Linked DNA regions of Homo sapiens: region 1 is linked to region 2. The links are contacts of gene promoters, found by promoter capture Hi-C in human tissues and cell types (Jung and others, 2019). All regions are on one chromosome and are shown on one strand. Each heading gives the region's core, a stretch centred on a gene start or on the middle of the fragment in contact. The rest is flanking DNA. Distances are from core to core; before and after follow the strand shown. Region 1 overlaps TNPO1-DT (TNPO1 divergent transcript). Region 2 holds the start of ZNF366 (zinc finger protein 366).

Region 1 (3,020 bases), core at 100-2,599, 240 kb after region 2:
CTTTTAACTTGTTTAAGCCATTGTTATTTTGAGTTTCTATCATTCACAGTCAAACCTAATTCTAATATAGACATCCAGAAGACTATGGACTGCTACACAATGTGGTTAGTTTTATTAAATAAAACATATTAATCTAGAAATGGAGGAAGATGAACGTCTTATATATTTGCCAGACAATGTTGCTAGAAAATGAAATCTTGTGCCACTTAGCAGCCTTTTCTCAGGGAGATGGCAGGAGCTTGCTTGTTTTTAGTCTATTGCACACATGATATGATTATGAAACATTGTGTAAAATGCAAAAATATGTGAGAGATTCAAAGAAGATAGGAAACAGAATTTTCCCCTATGTCAACAACATGAACAATATGTGGATTTTGTCATAATTTGAAGCTAGTGGCACATGGTATCATAGAAGATGCCACACACCAACAAGAAAGAACAATGCTGACTTTTCAAAACAAATCACCCAAACAATAAAGTTCTATCAAATTTACAGATTATTCTTCTCTAACTTAAGAAACCTTGCTTTGGAAATAAATAATATACTATCTTATATAATATATATGCTATAATTTACTATAATTGTTTAAAGACTTGCTATGCACACTGCTAGCTTGTTCTTGTATGAGCTAAATGTGTCAGAAAGTACTGGGGAATAGGAAAGTATCACCAAGTAAAATAACACCTTACATATGGTGCTTATAGTTCATTTATGCATTCACAAAGTATTGAATGCCTTCTTTGCACTAGATGCTGAGAAAACAAAGACTAGTTCCATCCCTTTGAAAGTTTAGGATCTTATGAAACAGCAAACTGAAAAGAAAATAAATTACTGGGAACGGCTGACATGCATTGAGCGTCTGACTCTCATGTAGGCATAATTCTAAGGACTCCATGTTTGTCACCTCAATATAAAACCCAAAGCAACCACATGAGACAGATACTGTTATCACTTCACAGACAGGGAAACTGAGGAATGAAAAAAGCTAAAAAACTTGCAGAGGTCACACAGGTAGTCATTTTAAAAAACTGATTTATGGCCGGGCGCGGTGGCTCACACCTGTAATCCCAACACTTTGGGAGGCCGAGGCAGGCTGATCACCTGAGGTCAGGAGTTTGAGAGCAGCATGTGAACATGGGGAAACCCTGTCTCCACTAAAAATACAAAAATTAGCCGGGCATGGTGGCACAGGCCTGTAATCCCAGCTACTTGGGAGGCTGGGGCAGGAGAATCGCTTGAACCCAGGAGACAGAGGTGGCAGTGAGCCGAGATCACGCCACTGCACTCCAGCCTGGGTGAGAGAGCAACACTCTGTCAAAAAAAAAAAATTAAAAAGGGCGACTTACACTCACATACTGTGGCTTCAGAGCCCGCAACACAATGCAATACTGCATCTCATATGGAAGGAATCATGTAGAAGATGCTGTGGAACATGAGAGAAACATCCAACCCACACCAGAAAGCCATTTTAGAGGGGATGATGCCTGACCTAGGTCTTGAAGGATGAGTAGAAAATTCATGTAAGGCAGAAGCAACAATAACTGCTAATGCATAGGGCAATAAATAGCATAAACTTAAGGTAATTGCAGTTTAAGTGGCTGCAAATAAGCACAGAAGGGAGGTTGGTGAAAATGAGATTAGAGAGGTAGGCAAATATCTGTCAGCTAACTTATCGCTTGAATTTGATCCCAGTACCTATGAGAAGATTTATAGAAGGACTTAAAGGAGGAGAAATGTGATTTCATTTATATTTAGATTATTCTCACAGTAGTAACATGGAGGATGAATTAAAGCAAGGTGAGTCCAGTGTGCATACTATTGGAATTATCCAGGAAAGTCTTGATGAGGGCCTGAACCAAGCCAATGGCAGTGGAGATGAGGAGAAAGAGATAAATTTGAAAGGAATTTTGGAGGCAGAATCCACAGGAGATACATGCAATGTGTGCAATAACAGAGAAACCGCCGATTAGGGATTCCCAGAGCTCTGGCCCAAGAGACTGGATGGATCCAAGACATTAAGCACAGTTTACTTAGCAGTTCCATGTAAAATATCTAGACGGTATGCAAGGAAGTTGTAAATGGTGCCACATAAGAAGTATTACAAGAGCGTTCAAAGTACAGAGAATCTGGCAAAAGTCAAATGACCTTGGGCAGGTGACTAGCACTTGCTTAAAGCTTAGCTAGAAGAGGACAGCTTGAATTTTTAATACTCCAGATCATTTTTTAATCACAGCTCTGTGCTATGCCACACATCATGTGTTAACAGATTTTTCTCACCTCTGACAGCTGATTATTTCAGAAGACATTTGGCAGTATGGGGAATAACTAGCAGACTATGTAAATATACGGGAAGAAAATAGCAACCTATAAATATAAGTCAGGTTGGAAGGTTATTCAGCTGCATCCAAAATAAAGAATCTAGAATATAATTTGGGTTATTTGCAAAAGGAAAGAGTGACCACTGATTGATTCTAGCCTGAGTTTGGAAACAACAGAGATATTCCTAGAAGGAAAGAAAGCACATGTTGCTTTGAAATTGATCTTTAACTGTTTATTATTGAGGATGATGATTCTTCCAAAAAGCCTCTTTTTAAAACTAAAGAGCTTTTGATTGCTCAACAAATGAGAAAACTATTAGATGGAAAATCATCAAGGATATAGAATATTTGAAAAATATAATTAACCAACAGTACCCAATTGACATATAAAACATTCCACCCAAAAAAAACGGAATAGACACTTTTTTCCAGTGCCCATGGAACATTCATTCACCAAGGTAGACCATCTCCTGGGCCATAAAACCTCAACAAATGTTTTAAAATTAAAATCATACAGAGTGTTTTTCTAATCACAACAGAAACAAACCAGGAATCAGTAATAAGATAAAATTTTCTTAAAATACTTAGAAATTAAACAACACACTTTTAAATGACCCATGGGTCAAAGATGGAGTTCAAACAAAAATTTTTAAACACATAAAACTTCAATGCAATTAAAATTACAACATATCAAAATATGT
Region 2 (2,861 bases), core at 84-2,583:
GTTAAAGCATAGTCTAGCCAAATTAATTTTTAAAATGAGAGTCCAGCTATTTTTATCTTATTCTTCACATCCCAGGTGATTTCAATCAGTAAATTTCATAGCAGTGAATATTTTTAAAAAGTATGCTTGGCCATTGGCTTTTACCCATTCGGCATCTCTCTGAATTAAAGTATTAATATTGGGAAACATAACGAGTCTCTCGGAGTGACCTTGCTGACCTATTTTTGACAACATGATTTCGGCTCCCTCATGGCTTGCGATGATAGGTGCTGGTAACATTATCCTTTATGACTAATCTAATTGAAGCAAGTTAGACTTTTAAAAACTAGTTGTGTATGTTAGCTTGACTAGCTTGCTACGCCCTATTTGGTGCTTGGAAAACCAGGCACTGGGTGAATGCTTTTCAATTGCGTCTGTAACTTAGTTTTTCCCTCCTACTGACATAAATGATCCATCTTAATCCTCCCATTCTAGCTGCATATTGTTTTCCAAAACTAAAGCTATATGCCCCAAAACCTTTGCCTTCTATCATGTGGCAGATGACATCTTCCACTGACAGTGAATAATAAATTTACACTCAACCCGCATGGGGAACCTGAACACATAAGCTCCCCACATGCAGAACTATTTCCAAGTGACATTCCCTTCTCTCTTTCCCTTCTACTTCAGTGATGCAGAATAACCATCATATAACAATTAACAATCCTCCTTTAGGGGGATGCTGAATGGAAAGAAAAGAACAGGAGAAGGGCACCTCAATCCAGGTAACGTATTAACAAAAACCCCAGAGCAAACCACAGTCCTTAACAGACACCCTGATAAGGCTCCCAGGACACAGTACTGAGGAAGAGCAAATTCTCCAGTGGGACACATCTCACACGCCAGTGGCTCCTGGTTCTCCCAGCCACATGATCTGTGCCAAAATTCAGATTTAACGCAGTGTCCTCTTTAGTCCCAATGTAATTCTATTTCTAGTTTTGCCAGCCTTAGTTCTGCAAAGCATCAGTATTCTCTTACCAAAAAAAAGTATTAGCTGAAATTCTGGGCCATCTATCACTTATACCCTTTGGTTAAGGACTACTCCCAGTAAGGTATTTTCTGTTGAAGATGCCCACAGCAGTATCCACCCAGGAACCTTGAAAAGGAAGCAGAAATGATTGCATGGGTAACTTACCAGCTCCTGAGGTCTGAATGGCTGCAGCAGCCCCACTCCTTTACCTGATCCCTGCTCTCTCTGTCTCTCTCCCTCTCTCTCTCCCTCTTTCTCTTGTGTACAGATTGCAGGGAACTTAAAGAACTCGCAGGGACAGTGTTTCGAATGACTTAAGAAAGAGAACAGGAACAATACTTCGTTCTCTTTTTCTCAGATGAGTACCTTCGGGAAGAAGGAAGGAAGGGAGGGGAGAGGGAGGAAGTCAACAACCCTTTGCTTTCCTGAAAAAAAATAAGGAAACAGAAGATAGACATCTCATTTTCTCTTAAACAAAATGTTGGAAGGGGCAAAAAAAAAAAATCTTTGAAAAAAGGAATTCCTCAAATATGTTCTCTGCCCTGGGAGCTTTAAAGAGATGAAACGCCTTAGTGGCCTGTCCTGTCCAAACAAACGGTGTTCCAGACAGGCAGGCTCTCCTGAGCCTGCAGCCTCTGGTATCTGGTTTGCAGAACTGACACAGCCGAAAGGGAACAAATCATGTCATGTCGACTTAGAGCAAGGGAGAGCTTGGCCTGTTGTGCTAACCAAGGTAAACCTGCAGCCTGTAAGACAGTGTCGGGGCTGGGCAGCCAGGACTCCTGGCTTTTCTTAGGCCCTTTGAAACACCAGCATTGCTGCAATTCCTCGCTGACTCTAGATCCTTAGAGTTTTTCCAGGATCAAATAGCAGATTTATGCCCACCGAACTTTATACAGTGGACCCAATCCAGCTTCCATCACTGATGGATGAAAAAGGAAAAGAAGCAACTAACCACAACTGCTGCCGGCCATGGTTATCTCAGATCTGTTGTTTATATTATTCTATCCTCTACATTCCTAAGGCGTCTTGGATTTAATCACCTCTGGAAAACTGGAAGGAGATTTCTAATTTGTTTTCAAAATACTGTGAAGCAGCATAGGGTTTAGATAAATCAGCCATGGTGTTCGAAAAAAGATAGGGGAGGCAGGAGCAGTTAAAATGGAGGGAGTAACCTTTATCAAGGTAGAAGACTTGGGGCTTCAGCAGGCAGGCATGAGCTTGCTTAGGCTAGTTGCACTTAGGAATAAGCTTGGTTTTAACTTCTCTGATTTGTGTTATGTCTCTTGTGTCCCTTATTCATCTGGTTAGGACCATTTTCACTGTGAACAGGAACCAGCAGTTATGTAGACCTTTGTGGCAGCAAAAGAAAAACCAGCCTTACACTACTTCCTCATTTCACCCAACTGTGAAAAAAATGGGGTGGACAGATACACCTGATTGCAAAGAGTCATGAAAGTGAGTTCAGGGGAAGAATGATTCTGATTCAGTGACCCTGTAAGATTTTGATTGAGTCCTTATTGGCCTATAGGATTATGTTTTTATTCTGACAGATATTTTTCTATCATCTATCTGTCTATCTATCATCTATCTATCTATCTATCTATCTATCATCTATCTATCTAATCTATCCATATATCTATCTATCTCCCTGTCTATCTAGTTATCTGAATATGTGTGCATGTATCAGAGAGAGACATGAAGATTTTGTTACTCGGTAGGTGTGCACAAGCCAGAGCAGAGTCCCATTCCTTGCATCCGCCACAGCACCAACACTGGCACAACCCATGGCACTGAGTTCTGGCCTGGGTGACCCAGCCTCACCAACAGTGGGGAACACGGATGACCAGAG

Evidence for each region. Contacts are between HindIII fragments. The study calls those that stand out against the background at their distance.
Region 1: a fragment that was not itself captured here is called in contact with the fragment with the promoter of ZNF366 in region 2 in 2 of the 25 tissues and cell types used here (IMR-90 fibroblasts and aorta).

Annotation. Positions count from the first base shown.
Region 1 is chr5:72,742,213-72,745,232 of GRCh38, forward strand. All of the region lies in intron 5 of TNPO1-DT (TNPO1 divergent transcript), which reads right to left. Among named protein-coding and RNA genes, the nearest start is that of TNPO1-DT, 73 kb to the right of the region's middle. The HindIII fragment of the contact is 3,416 bases long and covers 1-3,020 here.
Region 2 is chr5:72,506,077-72,508,937 of GRCh38, forward strand. ZNF366 (zinc finger protein 366) reads right to left here and starts at 1,334. Exons shown (of 5, transcript NM_152625.3): 1 at 1,175-1,334. The HindIII fragment of the contact is 10,357 bases long and covers 1-2,861 here.